Linked DNA regions of Homo sapiens: all the other regions are linked to region 4. The links are contacts of gene promoters, found by promoter capture Hi-C in blood cells and fetal thymus (Javierre and others, 2016). All regions are on one chromosome and are shown on one strand. The core of a region is centred on a gene start or on the middle of the fragment in contact, and the rest is flanking DNA. Distances in the headings are between cores, read along the strand shown. Region 1 overlaps CYB5B (cytochrome b5 type B). Region 2 overlaps CYB5B (cytochrome b5 type B). Region 3 overlaps TERF2 (telomeric repeat binding factor 2). Region 4 holds the start of NQO1 (NAD(P)H quinone dehydrogenase 1). Region 5 holds the start of CYB5B (cytochrome b5 type B). Region 6 has its middle 19 kb from the start of TERF2. Region 7 overlaps TERF2 (telomeric repeat binding factor 2).

Region 1 (3,137 bases), core at 210-2,709, 280 kb before region 4:
CATTCCAGCCTGGGCAACAGAGTGAGACTCCGTCTCAAAACAAACAAACAAACAAACAACAACAACAAAAAACAGAGGGTCAGTGGAAATAGGACCTTGGTTGCAACAATGCCTGAGTATGTCAATGTTGATCCATTCACAAGTAAGAATCATAGGGATGACGTTTGTTATATTTCCTTTCATCATGCCTGAGAGCATAGTGGGAGGAAGTGGTGATATTTTTATCCTCTGGGTTGTTGATGTAATATTCTCATGTCAAGAAAAAGACTTTTTGGGAATGTAATTTCCATTTTCACTGAAGGCTCTGCTTCAAATTAGGACTTAACTGTCAGATACTTGCTCCTGGGTGAGCTTCTTGTCGCTCTGTACCAGGATGAACATGTAGTGGCAGATCATATCTGAGAAGAAGCAGATGATAAACATGGGCGGGACCATCCAGTGGCTGACGCTGGAGTTGGACAGTAGCTCCTACCCTCTGTCTTCACTGAGAGCTGGTCTGGCTTCTCCTGGGGTGCCGGGGCTCTTTGGGTTTTCGTCGAGGCCTTCGTATGCTCCTCAGCCTGGGCATTATCTTGGCCTAAGACTGGCCAGGACCCTGCTATAGCCTCGGGCCTAGTGCAGTGATTCCAACTCCTCCAGCTGGGCTGCCAGTGGCCCATGGCAGCCCTGCATCCATTTGATTTTCGCTAACTCTATCTGGAGACTATAGAGTTCTAAACAGAAACCAAAAGCTCCCTGACGTCTTTTTGCTTGTTCTAAGCCATCTCTATTAAGACCATATTTTAGAGTGAAAGTTATTAAACCGTAGAATTTTGTTTGATCACTCTGACCCCCACTTGCTTCAGTGAAAAAAAAAAAGAAGCAGGCTACAAAACATTATGTACTACATGAATTCACTTTGTGAGAACACAAAAAACTTTTATTTATCACTGCCTACCACACAAAATAGTAAGGATTCAATAAAAAATTGTAGACTAATGGCTGAAATGATTGAAAGAATACACAGGAAAAATGAAGTTTTATGCACCAAATTGTTAACTGGACTTATTTCTGTTCCAGGACTCTAGTTGATTATTCTTTTTTCCAAATTTACCACAGCGAATATATAACTTTTACTTAATATTTTAAAAAAGTGTTGTGCTTTCTCTTGTTTATAAGTGGTGAGAGACTGATGAAAGTGAAAGTACTTGTAGAAAGAACTGTGTAGCAAGTCAAAAATTCAGTCATTCCCTGAAATGTTGTAATCTATGAAGGAGTTTTATTGTCCTTTTACTCTGAAAGGCAACACAATAGTTGGGTTGTGTCAAAAGGAAAAAATATCATCCATAGTTTAGGTGTATAGAACAAATTGGGACATAATTCCAGAACTGATGACTTAGTTCCACAACAAAGAACAGTTTCACATATAATAACCTGAGAGTTTCAGATATAATAACAAGTGAATCGTGGCTGTCTTACTCTTGCTGTAAAATAGCATTCTTAAATACTGGGATGTGAGACCCACTCACTGGGTGGAGACCTTTTAGGAGATAAAAATAGAAGTTATCCTTATCCTCAGGGAGCTCATAGGCTGGTGACTATGACTGGGAAGTAACACTTACAGTTTTTATACTTCAATTGAATTAACATTTATTTAAAATAGGAATGATAATTTATTCCTGCTGAAATGGTTGTTATAAAAAGTAAAAAGCATTAATATTTCAAAAATACAAATTTTGATATATTAAATAATATAAATTCTAAATTTGCTAATTTAAGTAAATGTTTTTTGAGTATTTAAGTCAAGGACTGTGCTAAATATAATTTTACAAAATGGTTAATTTTCTGAGTAAGTAATGCTTTATTTGGTAAAACAGTTTCAGAGGCTGGGCATGGTGGCTCATACCTTTAATCCCAGCACTTTGGGAGGCCGAGGCTGGTGGATCACCTGAGATTGGGAGTTCGAGACCAACATGGAGAAAAACCCCGTCTCTATTAAAAATACAAAATTAGCTGGGCATGGTGGCGCATGCCTGTAATCCCAGCTACTTGGGAGGCTGAGGCAGGAGAATCGCTTGAACCCGGGTGGCAGAGGTTGCGGTGAGCTGAGATTGTGCCATTGCACTTCAGCCTGGGCAACAAGAGCGAAACTCCATCTCAAAAAAAAAAAATTTTTTTTCAGAAGAGTATGTGGTGAAGTCTTCCTTCTACCCTATCTCCCAGCCACTAGGTTCTTTCACCATTTTCAGAGAGATTTTATGCATGGGTATAAATATGCATATATATATCTTCATTTAAAAATTGTAGATGGTATTATATTATGCTCTTCTGGAGTGCAAAGTGTTTTATATGCTTATCTCATTTAATATGTACAATAGTTGTCAAGACAGGTACTCTTATTAATATTTCCATTTTACAACTAAGGAACTAAAGACATCTCAATTTTTTAATAACTTGTGCAGGGTCACATAGCTGATAGTTATAGAATCTACTTCCTGAGGCACTACTTTATATAGTTAACTTATTTATTTATTCATTTATTTTGAGTCAGAGTCTCACTCTTTTGCCCAGGCTGGAGTGCAGTGGCGTGATCTTGGCACACTGCAACCTCCCCCTCACAGGTTTAAGTGATTCTCCTGCCTCAGCCTCCTGAGTAGCTGGGACTGCAGGCACCCACCACCACCATGCCTGGCACTTTTTGTATTTTTAGTACAGACGGGTTCACCAAGTTGGCCAGGCTGGTCTTGAACTCCTGATCTCAAGTGATCTGCCCGCCTTGGCCTCCCAAAGTGCTGGGATTACAGGCATGAGCCACCGTGCCTGGCCTAGTTAACTTTTTAATTTGAAACAATTTCAAAGTTACAGAAAAGTTGCAAGAATAGAATAAAGAATTGCATATACCCTTTGCCTGGAGTCCTTAGTCAGGTTTCTGCAGCTATCTCAATAATATTGGCAAAAGGAACCAACCTAGGATCACCCATTATTCCCAGTTGTCATGAATCTCTAGCCTCCTTCAATCTGGAACAGTTTCTTCACTCTTTCTTTGACTTTCATGACTGTGGTATCTTTAGAGATCACAGGCCAGACCTGTCCAGAAAGATTTTGTAGAATATTTCTAAATTTGTGGTTGTCCCAGGTGTCCTCACTGTAATCCCCAT
Region 2 (2,857 bases), core at 282-2,781, 260 kb before region 4:
GTGAACCCCAGAGGTGGAGCTTGCAGTGAGCCAAGATCGCGCCACCGCACTCCGGCCTGGGTGACAATGAGACTCCGTCTCAAAAAAAAAAAAAAGAAAGAAAGAAAGAAATTTTCTCCTTCAATGTTTTCTCAAGGATCCTACTTTTGGATTCTTCAGTCTCTTGCGGTTACTCTTCAAGGAGTCTGAATTCATTACTCTTATCAGGAGATTACTTCAGAGTTCCCATGTGCATATTGCTGTTATACGTGCCATATTGCTTGGTTTTGTAAACAAAGCTACCTGGCTGATATTCTAAACTAGTCCAGAGTAGCTTTCTGCTGTACGTAAGCATACAGAGTGCTAGGCATGTTTAGGCAAAGAGAATCATTTTTCTTATGAACTTCAGCTCGTTTTATTGACTTCAAAACCTTTTAATACCAAGACTCATATGTCTTAAGTAGAGGGGCAGCCGGGTCATTTGGATCATGGAAGAATTATACCTTAAAACTAGTGTGCTAATAAGTTCTATTAAAGAATTATTATGTTAAGGAGAATGATGACTGTTCTGAAGCTCCTAAGGAAGGTCTCTTGCAGTACTTTTGAAGCTGCCATTTGCTTCACCCTGTTAGAACTGTATATGCTTTGTGTGTATGTGTATCCTTATTAGTGTCCAAACTTAACTAGGGATTAAGAGGATGGGTTTGGAATCAGACTGTCCAGCTGCCTTTCTAGCTTTGGGATTTGGGGTGCAAAGCTTATATTTCCCTTGTATGAGATGAGAATAATAACCCTATTTCGTAGGTTATCCTATTTCATAAGGATTAAATCTTTAAAATACATATGAAGCAGATAGGATATTTCTGGTAGTTATATTAGATATGATTACTTCCAAATTTATATTGGGATGGATATGTTTTTATACATATATGAAATGTCACATACATAATGGTGTTTTTTCCTGTTTAAAAATGTTTAATTGTAGAATACGTGAAAAGCAAAAGCACAATGAAGAAAATGTGAGAGTATCCATAATCCCTAACTCAGAAATAACCACTATATGACTTTGTAGAAACACATATAGAGGCATTTAAAGACATCTTATTTGATATCATACTATTGGTTGTTTTTAACCTTTTAAAAAATTACTTTGTAATATTGTCACTCCAATTCAAATATTTTTCCCCAACTACTTTGTGATAAAAGCAGTTAAATTTCCCAAAGTAAATAAAAACTCCTTGCCTATATAAAAACATGTGAAAGCTGAAAGATAGTGAACATTTGGCTTAAAATATTAACAACTTTATTGCTTTCTCCCCCTATTCCTAGTTGCTGGGCATATTGGATTTTACCCATCATAGGCGCTGTTCTCTTAGGTTTCCTGTACCGCTACTACACATCGGAAAGCAAATCCTCCTGAGGAGGCCTTGCTGAAGTTAGAAAGTGCATCCACTTTGGGGCGAAAACTAGAGACTTGCTTGGGGGCTGCAGAAGTGCCCTCTCCTCGAATCCTGCCAGTTGCATTCTTCCCCCTTGGAGCCAAGACGATTGGCCAGACATCACCTCAGATCTGAGACCAGCGTCTTCCATCTCTCAGAGCCTTACTCCCAAAGTACCTGCTCACTGTTCCGTGTTGAACAATTGCCGGTGTTTCCTCTCTTCACTGGTTTCCATGAGTACCCTTATATTTCACAACTTTCTGTTCATAAGTTATAGTGACATTGCTCTTTGGTAAAAATGCCTGCTTTCCAATACTTTGATTGCATATTAGACATTCTTAACAGGGCGGCAGTCTAGTGTTGAAAGTTTTATTTTTCCATTTTTCTTTTAAGTAAATTTTTTTTAAAAAATTCTGATTTAGGGCTAGGTGTGGTGGCTCAGGCCTGTAATCCTGGCACTTTGGGAGGCCAAGGTGGGAAGATCGCTTGAGGCCAAGAGTTCAAGACCAGCCTGGGCAACATAGCGAGACCCCTATCTGTATTAAAAAAAAATCTGATTTAATTCTTTTATTTATCATAAGGGGTTTAATTCCTGAAGTAAAGGTTTGCACCTATTAAACTTAAAACTGCCAAATGATTTTTGTTCTTTTATGTGCGTGATAAAAATACAAAGAATGGTGTGGCCACCTCCTCCCTTTCAAGCTAGGGCAGCAGGTAGCTCTTCCCAGCCCCTGAGCCCAGCCCCTTCCCAAGTGGTGCCGGACAAAAAACTACATGGCCCTTTCGTGTCTTGGGGGTGGAAAGGTAGGGATGAATTGGGGTGATAGAACCCTGGTGAATTCAGAGTAATCTTTCTTTAGAAAACTGGTGTTTTCTAAAGAAACAGGATAGGAGTTTAGAGAAGGCACCAAAGCTTTCACTTTGGTTTGGCACCAGTTTCTAACCATCTGTTTTTTCTACCCTAGCTATCTTTTATTGGTAAAATATAAATGTATAATTATGTTTGTAGAGCTTTACCAAGGAGTTTCCCTCCTTTTTTGTTTGTTGATTAGCAAATTTTTGATTCTCCATTTTCCAAAAGTAAGAGACTCCAGCATGGCCTTCTGTTTGCCCCGCAGTAAAGTAACTTCCATATAAAATGGTATTTGAAAGTGAGAGTTCATGACAACAGACCGTTTTCCATTTCATCTGTATTTTATCTCCGTGACTCCAACTTGTGGGTTTGTTCTGTTTTTCCATGAGAATAAAATACTGGCGGTTTTTTTCTCAGATGTGTGTTCATTGAGAAGTAGGTTACTAGAATTATGTTACTGTGTCTTATTGGTTCAATGATGATTTCTCTGGCATATTAGACTTTTATTTTTTCCCCCATGGAAGCACTTGAGGAAATAAATAGTACACTGGCTGTTTTCTGCCAGCAACTGTGGTGATTTTTCTCC
Region 3 (2,795 bases), core at 108-2,607, 370 kb before region 4:
AGTGATCCACCCACCTCGGCCTCCCAAAGTGCTGGGATTCCAGGTGTGAACCACCATGCCTGGCCCCAACATCGTTTTCTAAAATTACTGAGGGAACGTCATATTTAAAACCCTTATGTATATATAATGTCTACATATACATATAGGTATTAGTGTGTGTATGTATATATACAGTCATATGTTGCTTAACAATGGGGATATGTTCTGAGAAATGCATCGTTTGGTGATTTCATCCTTGTGTGACTTACACAAACCTAGATGGTAGAGCCTAGGCTCTAGCCTGCAACTTCTTATCTATGGAGAAAGTATCTGACAACTGCTAACTCATGTCCCCATGTCTAACAACATGGCTTTCTCAACTTTTAAAGGACTAGAGTCATCCACTGGACTTAGGAACCAAAAACATTGGTGCAACTCCAAATAAAAGTAACAAACATGTATTCTTCCACTGCTATAACAGTCCTAATCCCCTTAATCTTACCGATTACTATTAACTTAGCTAACCTCTGCAAAAAAGGAATATGCCTACGATATATGGTGTAGCCTATTTTTCCGCTACAAACCTGTACAGCATGTGACATGCAACTGTGACACAATGGTAAATATTGTGTATCTAAACATATCTAAACAGAGACAAAGTAATGCATTGCACTACAATGTTACAATGCCTATGACATCTACAATGTCACTAGGCGATATGAATTTTTCAGCTCTATATATAACCTAATGGGACCACCGTCACCATATATGCAGTCCATCGTTAACCAAAACTTTGTTATGTGGCACATGACTATAGGTGTGTTTATATGTATAATTTCTGCATTATAACCCCTTGCTAACCACTGCTTTGAAATCACATGGTTTTGGCTGGGTGTGGTGGCTCACGCCTGTAATCCCAGCACTTTGGGAGGCCAAGGCGGGCGGATCACTTGAGGTCAGGAGTTCGAGACTAGTCTGGACAACATGGCAAAACTCCTTCTCTACTAAAAATATGAAAATTAGCTGGGAGTGGTGGCACATACCTATAGTCCCAACTACTCGGGAGGTTGAGGCAGGAGAATCACTTGAACCCAGGAGGTGGAGGTTGCGGTGAGGCAAGATCGCGCCACTGCACCCCAGCCTGGGCAACAGAGCGAGACTCTGTCTCAAAAAAAAAAAAAAAGAAATCATATGGTTTTGCTGTTTTGTACTAAAATTTTCTTTTTTTCTCCTTCATTTTTTAATCTTCCTCTTACTATCATTCCCAATTTTTTTTTTTTTTTTTTTTTTTTTTTTTTTTGCCCAGGCTGGAGTGCAGTGGTGCAATCTCAGCTCACTGCAACCTCCGCCTCCCGGGTTCAAGCTATTCTCCTGCCTCAGCCTCCTGAGTAGCTGGGACTACAGGCGCCTGCCACCACACCCGGCTAATTTCTGTATTTTTAGTAGAGACAGGGTTTCACCATATTGGCCATGCTGGTGTCGAACTTCTGACCTTGTGATCCGCCTGCCTCGGCCTTCAAAAGTGCTGGGATTACAGGCGTGAGCCACCACTCCTGGCCTAAATTTTTTTTGTTTGTATTTTTTGTAGACATGGAGTTTTGCCCTCTTGCCCAAGCTGGTCTCCAACCCCTGAGTTCAAGGAATCCGCCTGCCTCGGCCTCCCAAAGTGCTGGGATTACAGGCATGAGCCACTACGCCCAGCCTAGAATTTTCAAGTCCTTGTTCATTTTATAGAAGTACAATTTGGGTCTGGGCGGTGGCTCACACCTGTAATCCCAACACTTTGGGAGGCTGAGGCGAGCAGATCACTTGAGGTCAGGAGTTTGAGAGCAGCCTGCCCAACATGGTGAAAACCCGACTACTAAAAATACAAAAATTAGCCGGGCGTGGTGCGACACACCTGCAATCCCAGCTACTAAGGAGGCTGAGTCATAAGAATCACTTGAACCTGGAAGGCGGAGGTTGCAGTGAGCCGAGATCGCACCATTGCACTCCAGCCTGGGCAACAAAGTAAGACTGCATCTCAAAAAAAAAAAAGAAAAAAAGAAAACAATTTTGGTAGGGTATGGTATGGTGGCTCACAAGTATAGTCCCAGCACTTTGAGAGGATGAGGCAGACAGATTGCTTGAGCCCAGGAGTTCGAGATCATACTGGCCAACATGGTGAAACCCTGGCTCTACTAAAAATACAAAAAAAGATTAGTTGGGCATGGTGGCAAGGGCCTGTAGTCCCCGATACTCCAGAGGCTAAGGTGGGAGAATTGCTTTAGCCCAGGATGTCACGGCTACAGTGAGCCAAGATCACACCACTGCATTCCACCTTGGATGAGAGTGAGACCCTGTCTCAAAAAAAAAAAAAAAAAAAAAGGATTTATATATAGAAACTGTTAAGATTTTTTTTTCTTTAAACAAGAAATGCAGGGAATGACCCCCTACTACCACATCTAATTGAAGGATTTTAGGAAGAACATCAACTATAATTAAATATCATAGGCGTTATTAAAACAAAACCAAGAACTCTCTTTAAACATAAGGCGTTACTCTGACAGTCTCCATTATTTAATGGGAGAGGACATCAGACTGACTCCTTGACCAGGGCACAGTGACTCACATCTGTAATCCCAGCACTCTGGGAGGCTGAGGTGGGAGGATCGCTTGAGCCCAAGAGTTTGAGACCAGCCTGAGCAACAAAGTGAGACCCCATCTCTACAAAAAGTGAAAAAAACAGCCAGGTGTGGTGGTGCACACCTGCAGTCCCAGCTACTCAGGAGGCTGAGGCAGGAGGATCACTTGAGCCCAGAAGGTTGAAGCTCAGT
Region 4 (2,718 bases), core at 161-2,660:
GCTACCAATCCCCAGCTTAGTCCCTTTCTCAGAGATCCTGATAATTTCAGTTTGTCAACTGCAAGGGCAGTCTGTTCCTCCACTCACTTTGACCAAGATGGGCTTCTTTGTGTACAGGCGCATTTTTAGAGGCAGGACCAGGTCCACAGGGAAGGAAATTACAAAACACAGGATTCTGCCCCAGATGAGGCAACAGCTTTCTAAATCTTAGTACTGTCCAATCTCAGAGTGAGATTATTTGGGAAACAGCTCTCAATCCCTGCAGTTGTCTCAGCTGGTTATTTATGCCTTGGGTGGAGCTGGGGTGACCTCTGAGTTCCCCTAGGGTCGATGGCCGAGTGGGAAGGCTCTATCACTGAAGTGGACCCAATACTAGAAACGGATCCAGTACGATCTGATCAGGTTTGCCTAATCCAAGGGCCTCAATGGAAAATGCCTCCCAAGGCCAGGCACGGTGGCTCACGTCAGTAATCTCAGCACTTGGGGAGGCTGAGGTGGGTGGATCACCTGAGGTCAGGAGTTCAAGACCGCGCTGGCCAACTTGGCGAAACCCGTCTGTACTAAAAATATAAAAATTAGCCGCGCATGATGGCGCACTCCTGTAATCCCAGCTACTCGGGAGGCTGAGATGGGAGAATCGCTTGAACCCGGGAGGCGGAAGTTTCGCTGAGCTGAGATAGCGCCATTGCACTACAGCCTGGGCGACAAGAGCAAAACTCCGTCTCAAACAAAACAAAACAAAACAAAACAAAACAAAACCTGTGCCTGGCAGCCTGGAGCCGGTTCTGGTCTCCGTCAAACCAAAGGCATCAGTTTCCTCCACTCCTGTCCACCAATCGCCAGATATTCTCATTTTCTTCAGAAGCTCGGAATCCACATTTTTAAGTGAAATCACCCATTTTAATGTTAGCAACTTATTTCAAAGTGTTTTAGATACTATAGACCAAAAGAGGTATGGGCTGTGACCGTAAGCCTGATTTGGCCTCTGACGGCCAGTTTCTGACCACAGTTTTGGAGGGAATTTCTGCTTCCAAGGTCAAGTTTCTCCTAAATGCCCACTAGAGTTCGTGGGGTGGAGTGAGGAAGGATCCGCGACACCGGATACAAACAGAAGCTCTCCTTCTCCCGGAGTCCGATCAAGGCTCATCCCAGGTCCCTAATCTCTTCCCTTTGTGGGTTTTGAGTCAAGGAACAAAATTCAGGGCCAAGCCCCTACAACCTCCTCCACAGGCACCAGTGCTCGAGAGACGACCGCCAAGCACCCCGCCCTTTGCAGCACTCACCGACCATGGCTCTGGTGCAGTCCGGGGCGCTGATTGGCTGGGCTCGTGGTTGCCGGGGCGACCCTGGCCGGAACTAGGCTCTCGGTGAGCTGGGCGGCTCCGGCTGCAACCTTGTGGGAGTCGCGTGTGTAGTGCACGGTGCATTCTCTCTTATATATCCTGTCCGGCCCGTTTGAGGTGGACAGCCTACAAGGGCGGGACCCAACGCCTGAATCCTGGGGTGCTGGGCGGAGGATGCTGAGGCTGCAGCTCCAGGAAGGGAGGGAGCCTGGGGGATGAAGGAGGGGCCTCTCCACTCTCACCCGCCGGAGCAACTGGTGGAAGTCAAGAAAAGTCTCTCGGGGCTGGGGGAGGGGATTGTAGGGGTGTGTGTGACAGAGGCCTCAAAAATCTGGCTGGGGGTGCTAAGGCAAGCCCATCTGCGCACTGTGCCCTGAGGTGCAAGAGGATGCAGGGTGGAAGTCGTCCCAAGAGAGTCCAGGGATCAAGTGGGCATGCCCTTTTAGCCTTGGCACGAAATGGAGCAGAAAAAGAGCCGGATGCGGATTACTGTGGTGCCCTAGGCTCAGATTCTGCTGAGTCACTGTGACTGCGGATTTGGAAGGCTGAGAGTCCTGGGGAGACATGCTCCGTGGAGACGAATTTGTTTCTTCCTTTGCAAGATTCAGATTCTGCACTTGGGGGCCCATACAACACACTTCCCTGGGTGCATGCCACTGCACCACCCCTGCTCCTCAAGGCAGGTAATGGGGGAACTAATTGGTTTTGTTTCCCATGAGCTAAGGCAAGGCTGGTGTGGAGATAGCAGTTATAGGGAAGCATATTAAAGAATAGCCAAAACGGGACCAGGCGCGGTGGCTCACGCCTGTAATCCCAGCAATATGGGAGGCCGAGGTGGGTGGATCACCTGAGGTCAGGAGTTCGAGACCAGCCTGGCCAACCTGGTGAAGCCCCGTCTGTACTGAAAAATTAGCTGGGCGTGATGGCGGGCGCCTGTAAGTCCCAGCTACTCGGGAGGCTGAGGCAGGAGAATCGCTTGAACCCGGAAGGCGGAGGTTGCAGTGGGTCGAGATCGTGCCACTGCACTCCCGCCTGGGTGACGAAGTGAGACTCCGTCTCAAAAAAAACTCTATAAAGTAAAAGTTACTGTAAAGAAGGAGATATACTCTCAGTAGGTGAAGGAAAAAGAACTAGAGCTTTAAAGTGGTAATTAACCATCAGAAGAATCACAGATGGGGGAGGTGAGGATGACACAGGGCCCTTCCGTTGTCCCTCCAGTGCAAAAGTTAAGGAGGCACCAGAAAACTGGTTTCCAACTCCCGACCTCAGGTGATCCTACCGCCTCGGCCTCCCGAAGTGCTGGGATTACAGGCATGAGCCACCGCGCCCGGCCCCATCGTGACATTTTTGCATTCATTTTGATGCAACAAGAGAG
Region 5 (2,890 bases), core at 348-2,847, 300 kb before region 4:
TGGAAGCACTGGAGCTCAAAACGGTAGGAGAAGTTTGAAAATAGAAGAAACTGAAGAGGAACTTGAAAAGCCGGTAGGCATTGAAAGGAAGAGGAGTCCTTGGGACAGCAATTGAGGGTAGAATGTGGAGTATCCCATGTTTCTACCACCATTCAGAATCCGATTTTCAAATGAATTCTGTGATGATCAGGATCAATCTGCACTATTTTAGTCTCTAAGTGATCTAAAATTAACTTGGTGGACCTGGGATGACCACGGATGTGGTTTTAAACCAGCAGGTTTCAGAGTCGGGGCGGGTGCAACAGGCTTATAAAGGGAATGGTGGAAAATATTATACGTTAGTGAAAGAGGTTGCGAATGGATTGTGGAGAGCCCTGAATGGTAGACTGCGAGAGTGACAGGATGAAAACGACGACATCATAGGAAGAGCAATCTGTCAGTTGTAATGGCAGTTAAAAAGTGGCGCACAACACTGTACCTTAACCAAACTTGGAATTCCAAAGTGCTGGGACCTCTAGCGGAGAGCAGTTGAGTTCAATTCTATTTTAGATCACGTAGAGACTAAAATAGTGCCGATTGATCCTGATCATCACAGAATTCGTTTGAAAATCGGATTCTGAATGATGGTAGAAACATAGGATACTCCACATTCTACCCCCAATTGCTGTCCGGGACAGCAATTGCCTTTCTAATCGACTGCCATGTTTAGCGATTACTATGCGCCAAGCGCTTTACAGGCACTCTCATTAAAATAGGCAAACCGGGCCAGGCGCGGTGGCTCACGCCTGTAATCCCAGCACTTTGGGAGGCCTACGCAGGCGGATCACCTGAGGTCAGGAGTTCGAGACCAGCCTGGCCAACATGGTGAAACCTACTCTCTACTAAAAATACAAAAATTAGCCGGGCGTGGTGGCGCATGCCTGTAGTTCCAGCTAGTCGAGAGGCTGAGGTAGGAGAATCGCTTGAACCTGGGAGGCGGAGTTTGCAGTAAGCCGAGATCGTGCCACTGCACTCTGGCCTAGGAGACAGAGCGAGAACTTGTCTCAAAAAAAAAAAAAAAAAAAAAAAAGGCAAACCCCTCTGTAAGAGAGTGCTTTATCAAGCCCATTTTACTGATGGGGAAATTGAGGAGAGACGGGATTGGCCAGATCACGACCTGGAGGCAGCAAAGATGTAAAATCAGGGTTGGGATACAGGCTGCGCCGGTAGTGTAGGGGATAGGAACTTTCTGAGACTCAGGAGAAAGCCACAGCGATGGGAAGGGAAGCAGAACACTGGAGACCCTAAAGGCCCACAGGCTGAGAGAAGTGGTACCTCTCCTGAAGTGACACCTGTCAGCACGCCTCTTTTGGGCGCCAGTCCAAAAATCGCGGTATCTGATTGGCGAGGTTGGAGGGGGCTGAACGACCCTAATTGGTTAGTTGGACCTCGAACCAGACTTTCATCTGGAGGATCGGGCGAGGAGTGGGCGGGATTTCGAACTGAGCCACTCCCTTCATTGGTGAAAAGAAAACGAACCAGGAACTATTCGGAAGTGTGATTGGCTGTTGCTAGGAACCGTCTCAAGGCCTTATGGGCCCTGGTTACGGAAGCCGAGGAAGGCTGAGCGCGGGCTCTCAAGGAAAGTAGTCGCGGAATCTCAGTTAGCGGTGGAGAGGCAGTATGTCCGGTTCAATGGCGACTGCGGAAGCTAGCGGCAGCGATGGGAAAGGGCAGGAAGTCGAGACCTCAGTCACCTATTACCGGTTGGAGGAGGTGGCAAAGCGCAACTCCTTGAAGGAACTGTGGCTTGTGATCCATGGGCGAGTCTACGATGTCACCCGCTTCCTCAACGAGGTGGGGCCTGGGAGGTGGGAGGCCTCTGAAGCTGCTGGGGCGAGGGGTGAAAAGGCTGTGTGGAGTGTATGTGGGAAGGAAGGGAGGCTTGGCTGGGGGCGATAAGGCGTAAGAAAGGGATCACGACCCTCAGAGGGAAACTGGGGTGGGATTGGGGGAGGGCTTTAGTTTGCATGCATTTCCAGTCAGCTCCGAGTTCTGGTGCCTTATGTAATATCATGTATTACTTATGTGTCGAGCATTTGCTGTGTGCTCAGCTAAACTCTAAGCCATCATTATCTTTATTTTACAGAAAGGGAAACTGAGGCTCACAGGTTGAGGACTCTCAGGGCCATAGAGTTAGCAGCTTAGATCCGTTGAACCTAGGTCTGAAGTGCACCCACATCTGTGCTTTTCCAGTGTGCCTTCTGAAGTAATACCGGTTTTGGTTTTCGTCTTCTAGAGTAGAAGCTGAGATTTCTCTCCACACGCTTCCCCATCTTGATTATGCCTCCACTGTTTTTTTTTCCCCCTAATCTGAGTTGACCTTGAGGCCAGAAACTCATAAATCAACCCTTTTTTTTTGTTTTTGACTCATGTTTTGTCATTTTTCTTAAATATTCAAGACTGTTTTATTTAATCTTCAAGTCTGTTGCATTACATCTCATTTTAAAAATTATTTTTGAGACCATGGTGCAACTAATTTTTTTTTTAAGGAAACAGGATAGACTTCTAAATATTTAAAACTTTATTGAGGTGTAATGTACATACGTAAATTGTGCCTATCTAAAATGTACATTTTGATGAGTTTTGAAAAATGTATTCATCCATGTTAAGACATAAACCATTTCCATCATTCTAAAAAGCTTCCTTTCCCTTTGCAGTCATTCTCTCCCAACCCCAGGCAACTAGTGATATGCAGCCGCTAAAGATTGGTTTGAAGCTTTGATTTTCGGTGTGTGTATGTTTGAAGCTTTGATTTTCGGTTTGTGTGTGATCATTTTATTTTGAGCAATAGATTAATGACTTGTGAAAGTTCACTTCTATTTCTCTGAAGCAAATATACTAGTGAAAT
Region 6 (2,896 bases), core at 278-2,777, 320 kb before region 4:
ATATTTTTAGTAGAGACAGGGTTTCATCATGTTGGCCAGGCTTGTCTTTACAGGCCCAGCATGGTGGCTCACGCCTATAATGCTAGCACTTTGGGAGGCAGAGGCGGGTAGATTGCCTGAGCTCAGGAGTTCAAGACCAGCCTGGCCAATGTAGTGAAACTCCGTCTCTACTAAAATACAAAAAATTACCCAGGTGTGGTGGCGCATGCCTGTAGTCCCAGCTACTTGGGAGGCTGAAGCATGAGAATCTCTTGAACCCGGGAGGTGGAAAGTGCAGTGAGTTGAGATCGTGCCAGTGCACTCCAGCTTGGATGACAGGATGAGACTCTGTCTCCAAAAAAATTTTAAAAATAAAATAACACATTTATATTTTCTCCCCTCCTTTTATTTTTTTATTTTACATTAGCAATAGAACACTATATGGGCCAGGTGCAGTGGCTCATGCCTGTGGGCCGAGGTGGGTGGATCACCTGATGTCAGGAGTTCAAGACCAGCCTGGCCAACATAGTGAAACCTCGTCTCTATTAAAAATACAAAAATTAGCTGAGCGTGATGGTGGGCGCCTGTAATCACAGCTACTCGGGAGGCTGAGGCAGGAGAATCGATTGAACCCGGGAGGCAGAGGTTGCAGTGAGCTGAGATGGCGCCATTGCACTCCAGCCTGGGCGAAAAAGCGAAACTCCATCTCTATCTCAAAAAAAAAAAAAAAAAAAAAAGAAAAGAAAAAAAAGAAAGAAAGAAAAAGAAATTAGAGAAGTATCTGGGATTTAGAAAGTTCAGAAAACTTGGAGAAGGGCCTTTGGCCCATGCGGTGGTTACTGAGATGCTCATTGTTTACGTGCAGTTGACTTCAAGATAGAAGGTTCAACCTCAGTGTCAAGCTCAACCTCCAGGACCCTCTTGGAGACTTCCAAGACCTAGGATGGCTGGGCATTCAGTGCTTTGGGAGCTGCCATCCTTCACCTGCTAGGGTTCTGTGTGGGATCGGGGTGGGGGTCTCTGTTACTCAGGAAACTGCCCTCCCTTCCTCCCAATTAGATTTGCACTTTATTACTTTTTTTCTTTAGCTTTTTTCGAGATGGACTTATACTTAAAAAAACCTGCTCTTAGATAATGGGTGGCAGGGGGGTAGAGGGGATTTGAGAAGACCTGGAAAATTCCCAGGTCTCCACTAAATAAGAAAACTGGAGAGTAAGGGGACTGGAGAGGAACGGAGAAAGAAATGTATTTTCTTTTCTTCTTGTAATCAGAACTGTAGCTTGCAATATTTTTTTCCCAAGCTTCTAAGAGAGTTTTGCAAACAATTGGAGTAATTAAAAGTTCTCAGAAGTAGCCGATGGTGCCCTTTTCACCGAGGGAATGTGGGCCAAGCATGATATATTAAAAGAGAGGGAGCTGCTCTATTGAAGTTAAAAATAATCTGTCACATGGCTAATTTGTTGGAATGCAGCAATAAAGGGCTGTGGGCAGAGGGAGAGCTGGAAGCAGCTGGGAAGTTTGCAGGCAGAGTGCACGCCCTGGGGACTGTGTTTGTAGGGAGAGAAAACAGTGTTACAGCTGCCTTAGGGCACCTTATCAGAAAACCCACAAAATGGGCAGGAAGAAGGAAGAGTAGGTTTGAGTCCAGAGCATGACCTTTGGGCTTATCAGACAGTGAAGGGATGGGTCAGAACTTGTCACCTGTGTTCACGGGATGCTGATTCACTCAGCAAGGATGAAGTCTTTTCAGATCCCCCTGCATTTGAATCCGTTTCAAAGGAATACATAATTCAAAGGAAGCTTTTGATCCGAAATCCATGGGAAAACCAATCTATAGGGTCTTGAGCGAAAAAAGTTCAAGCCAGGAATACAAATCCTAGTTTGGGGGATTGGGGATATTATAATTTTTGAAATGTTAGAGTTGAAAGAGAGAAAACAAATTATTTAGTATAATCCCTGAATTTTCCCTTCCTTCCTTCCTTCCTTCTTTCTTTCTGTCTTCTTCTTTTTTTTTTTTTTTTTTGAGACAGAGTCTTGCTCTGTTGCCTGGGCTGGAGTGCAGTGGCTCGATCTTGGCTCACTGCAACCTCTGCCTCCCGGGTTCAAGTGATTCTCCTGCCTCAGCCTCCTGAGTAGCTGGGACTACAGGCATGCACCACTGCGCCCACCTAATTTTTGTATTTTTAGTAGAGATGGGGTTTCACCATGTTGGTTAGCCAGGATGGTCTCGATCTCTTGACCCTGTGATCTGCCTGCCTCGGCCTCCCAAGTGCTGGGATTACAGGTGTGAGCCACCACGCCCGGCCTACTCCCTGAATTTTCTACATGAGGCAACAGGCTCAAAGAGGTTGATTTGCTCAAGGTCACTCAACCAGCAAGTAACAGAGCTAGATTCAAACCCAGGTCTTTAGCTAGAAAGGAAGGGCATAGTGGTTAGCAAATATAGGGTTCAGAATGCCCTGATGTCAAATCCTGGCTCTACCAGCAGGACCCTTGGGCAAGTTTCTAACTCCTCTCAGTGTTAGTTTCATCATCTGTAAGATGGGAATAACAATAGTACCCACTAGAATTGCTACAATGTATGTAAAGTGCTAAGTATGACATCCAGCCTAGAGGAAAGGCTTAATCAAACACTAGATGTTATCATGCCACAGCTTTTTCATCACCCTGCATCAAATTTCTAGAGCTTTCCGCAGATTAACTTGTCCAAACATCCTCTTTGGTTTGGGTGGGATTCTCTTTCTCCCTTTCCCACCTCCAACTCTCACCCATTATATATAAAGAAAAAGAGGGTGGCCGAACTTTAACCTCTCTATCCTCTGGTAGACACTTTCGCTAGCATTTCCTACATTGTAACACACCCATGAGACTTGTTTTCTCTTAAGCTACATGCCCTCCGGCCTGTATTTTCAGTATG
Region 7 (2,977 bases), core at 248-2,747, 340 kb before region 4:
AAGCTGAAAATGGAGGAGTATTTTAATAGCTTTTTCAGAAAACTGTGGCTATTCTTGTTTGATTCTACACGAAACTGCAGTAAGTAAACTTTTCTTAATCTGTCACATTAAAATCCATCAGTCAGCTGGGCGCAGTGGCTCACTCCTGTAATCCCAGCACTTTGGGAGGCCAAGGCGGGTGGATCATGAGGTCAGGAGTGCAAGACCAGCCTGGCCAAGATGGTGAAACCCATTTCTAATAATAATACAAAAATTAGCCAGGGGTGGTGGTGGGCGCCTGTAATAACAGCTACTTGGGAGGCTGAGGTGTAGAACTGCTTGAACCCAGGAGGCGGAGCTTGCAGTAAGCCGAGATCACGCCACTATACTCCAGCCTGGGCGACAGAGAGAGACTACGTCTAAAAAAAAAAAAAAAATCCATCAGTCTATCTTGTAGTTTAAATAGATCTTTCATCCATGGATGACTTCATAACATCATGCATTGGTCATCTGGAAAATACTGGTTCACTGAGTTATGAAGATCTTCAAATATTGACACATTCATTAATTTTTTTTTTTTTTTTTCTGAGATGGAGTCTCACTGTTTCCCAGGCTGGAGTGCAGTGGTGTGATCTCGGCTCACGGCAACCTCCTCCTCCCGGGTTCAAGCAATTCTCCTGCCTCAGTCTCCCGAGTAGCTGGGATTACAGGTGCCCACCACCACGCCTGGCTAATTTTTTTTGTATTTTTAGTAGAGACGAGGTTTCACTATGTTGGCCAGGCTGGTCTCAAACTCCTGACCTCAGGTGATCTACCTGCCTTGGCCTCCCAAAGTGCTGGGATTACAGGCGTGAGCCACCGCGCCCAGCCTAAAAAATATTTTTTAAATGTCAGTTGTTAATATTACCAATCTTCAGAAAAGACTAAGTATTGGGAAGCTATCAAGCACATGAATACAAGTTTTCCAAAATTCTGTTTTTCACTAGAAAGCTTAAACTTTATCACTGGCAACAAATACTGTCACTTGTTTTATGTGACAGGTTTGCTTTACTCATTCTCAAGAAAATGACTGCCAAATACCCAAGTGTGAACAACTGTAATTTGTCAGTTGTTCTTCAGGTAAAATAGTATTCCATAAAAAAGCAGCTAGTTCAGCATGCAACTCTAATAATAACACAAGTGCTTTTCCTGGTAACCATCATGTTTTGGTATGCAGCAGAAACATTTTAGTCATACTTCCTCTTATTTTTTTTTTTTTCTTTTTTGACAGGGTCTTCACTCTGTCGTCCAGGCTCGAGTACAGAGGTATGATATCAGCTTACTGCAACCTCCACCTCCCAGGCTCAGGTGATCCTTCTGCCTCAGCCTCCCAAGTAGCTGACACCACAGGTGCACACCACCACACCCAGCTAATTTTTTGTATTTTTGTAGAGACAGGGTTTCACTATGTTACCCAGGCTGGTCTGGAACTCCTAGGCTCAAGCGATCCACTCACGTCAGCCTCCCAAAGTGCTAGGATTACAGGTATGAGCTACTGCACCTGGCCCATACTTTCTATTTCAACACACAAAATCCTGAAAAGATGTTTACTCAAGGCTCTAGAGTTAATAAAATTCATCCAGTTTTTGCTGCTTTACCAAAGACATTCTTTTTTAAATTTTTTTTTAATGGGAGTTCTGAGCTTTTAAACAACTGTGACTAACATTCTTAATTAAAATTGGTAGTTTTAAAAAAAATTGTGGCAGTGAAGAATACAATGACTACTAGTACAATTACTACCATCTTGATCACGCTAAGGAATCACCCATTTTACTCATCCTTGCTTTTGTACCATCAATGCAAATGCCAATGCATTGAAAAAGTCAAATAATGTTTTGGTTCTGCTTATGAAAACAGTTTTGACCTCATGGCTTCTCTGAAAGGGTCCTGGGGACCTCCAGAGATCCCTAGACCATGCACTGAGGGTTCTAACTTAACAAATAACTTACTTGATAAACTTTGCGAAAGATTCAATATACTTTTAAATAAATTGTTTTGGCACTTTACAAAGCTTAAATGCATGAGCAAGGCTCACTGAACCTAGGCGTCTGTAGAATTTTCCCGATCATTAACAGATTCCGTGACTGTAAATGAGAAACTTTTACAAAGTAAATTGAAGAGATGGATGAAATAATATCATTTAACAACTAGGAGATCAAGGTAATTGTGGTTGCCAACCTCAAAGGCAGCCCCCAATGCGCCTCACCTCTTGCGGAGTCCCATTCACACTCTACCAGAGTGAGTCTAGTCTGTATGACCAAGAGCATATGGTGGAAGTGATAATGTGTCACTTCCAAGATTAGACTCTACAAGAATGAGACTTCTGCCTTGGGTTCTTGCTCTCTTGCATGATTTGCTGTAGGAAAACAAAGCTGCCATGTTGCAAGCAGCCTTATCTGTGAAGAGGCCAGGAGCTGAAGTGTCCAGCCAACAGCCAGTAGGAAAGTGAGTCTTGTTAACAACTATGTGAGTAGGGAAGCAGTTGAGTCTTGAAATGACTGCAAACCTAGCTGACAGCTTGACTGTAACCTCATGAGAAACCCTGAGCCAGAATCACTAATAGACTCCTGATCCTCGGAAACTGAAAGATAATATTAACTGTTTTGAGCTGCTTATTCTTGGAGTAACTTGTTACACTGCAGTAACAATAAGCATAAGATCTAGTACGTGGTGGAGACTGGAAAAGGAGAACAGAGTCAACGTAAGAAAATGGCTACTCTGAGAGCTTAGATTTTTCTAATAGATTTTTCCTAATGAACCACCCAAATAAGGAGCTCTATGAGCCTAAATAATAATAATAAATACGCAGCTGAAAGATGAAAGCCCACAAAGACTCTTCCAGAAGAGGGGCCAGATGGCAAATCTATAGCCCTTGTGTTCTAAAGGAGTTGCTACAGGTTGAGCATCCTAAATCTGAAAATCCGAAATCTGAAATGCTCCAATGAGCATTTCCTTTGAG

Evidence for each region. Contacts are between HindIII fragments. The CHiCAGO score rates a contact against its expected background, and 5 or more counts as called.
Region 1: a contact is called between a fragment that was not itself captured here and the fragment with the promoter of NQO1 in region 4, in 1 of 17 cell types (activated CD4 T cells). The highest score is 5.3, in activated CD4 T cells.
Region 2: a fragment that was not itself captured here is called in contact with the fragment with the promoter of NQO1 in region 4 in 1 of 17 cell types (activated CD4 T cells); the score reaches 7.2 in activated CD4 T cells.
Region 3: a contact is called between a fragment that was not itself captured here and the fragment with the promoter of NQO1 in region 4, in 1 of 17 cell types (activated CD4 T cells). The highest score is 7.0, in activated CD4 T cells.
Region 5: the fragment with the promoter of CYB5B here is called in contact with the fragment with the promoter of NQO1 in region 4 in 2 of 17 cell types (neutrophils and activated CD4 T cells); the score reaches 5.8 in neutrophils.
Region 6: a fragment that was not itself captured here is called in contact with the fragment with the promoter of NQO1 in region 4 in 3 of 17 cell types (activated CD4 T cells, megakaryocytes and naive B cells); the score reaches 8.9 in activated CD4 T cells.
Region 7: a contact is called between a fragment that was not itself captured here and the fragment with the promoter of NQO1 in region 4, in 2 of 17 cell types (endothelial precursors and activated CD4 T cells). The highest score is 6.3, in endothelial precursors.

What each region holds. Positions count from the first base shown.
Region 1 is chr16:69,443,819-69,446,955 of GRCh38, forward strand. All of the region lies in intron 1 of CYB5B (cytochrome b5 type B), which reads left to right. It also overlaps the pseudogene LOC100420066. Among named protein-coding and RNA genes, the nearest start is that of CYB5B, 21 kb to the left of the region's middle. RefSeq lists enhancers at 316-395, 426-685. The HindIII fragment of the contact is 3,851 bases long and covers 1-3,137 here.
Region 2 is chr16:69,461,122-69,463,978 of GRCh38, forward strand. CYB5B (cytochrome b5 type B) reads left to right here. Exons shown (of 5, transcript NM_030579.3): 5 at 1,309-2,857. The coding sequence ends at 1,399. Among named protein-coding and RNA genes, the nearest start is that of CYB5B, 38 kb to the left of the region's middle. The HindIII fragment of the contact is 1,595 bases long and covers 735-2,329 here.
Region 3 is chr16:69,358,381-69,361,175 of GRCh38, forward strand. All of the region lies in intron 8 of TERF2 (telomeric repeat binding factor 2), which reads right to left. Among named protein-coding and RNA genes, the nearest start is that of TMED6, 8.0 kb to the left of the region's middle. RefSeq lists a silencer at 202-402. The HindIII fragment of the contact is 7,774 bases long and covers 1-2,795 here.
Region 4 is chr16:69,725,150-69,727,867 of GRCh38, forward strand. NQO1 (NAD(P)H quinone dehydrogenase 1) reads right to left here and starts at 1,411. Exons shown (of 6, transcript NM_000903.3): 1 at 1,284-1,411. The coding sequence starts at 1,290. It overlaps NQO1-DT (NQO1 divergent transcript), which reads left to right and starts at 1,578. Exons shown (of 2, transcript NR_186363.1): 1 at 1,578-2,026. RefSeq lists enhancers at 894-1,886, 973-2,172, 1,419-1,678, 1,887-2,718. The HindIII fragment of the contact is 8,732 bases long and covers 1-2,718 here.
Region 5 is chr16:69,423,022-69,425,911 of GRCh38, forward strand. It overlaps CYB5B (cytochrome b5 type B), which reads left to right and starts at 1,598. Exons shown (of 5, transcript NM_030579.3): 1 at 1,598-1,836. The coding sequence starts at 1,663. RefSeq lists enhancers at 881-1,428, 1,429-1,976. The HindIII fragment of the contact is 7,938 bases long and covers 1-2,679 here.
Region 6 is chr16:69,403,062-69,405,957 of GRCh38, forward strand. No RefSeq gene overlaps it. Among named protein-coding and RNA genes, the nearest start is that of TERF2, 19 kb to the left of the region's middle. The HindIII fragment of the contact is 499 bases long and covers 1,279-1,777 here.
Region 7 is chr16:69,380,256-69,383,232 of GRCh38, forward strand. The region is part of intron 3 of TERF2 (telomeric repeat binding factor 2); the gene reads right to left. Among named protein-coding and RNA genes, the nearest start is that of TERF2, 4.3 kb to the right of the region's middle. The HindIII fragment of the contact is 1,060 bases long and covers 968-2,027 here.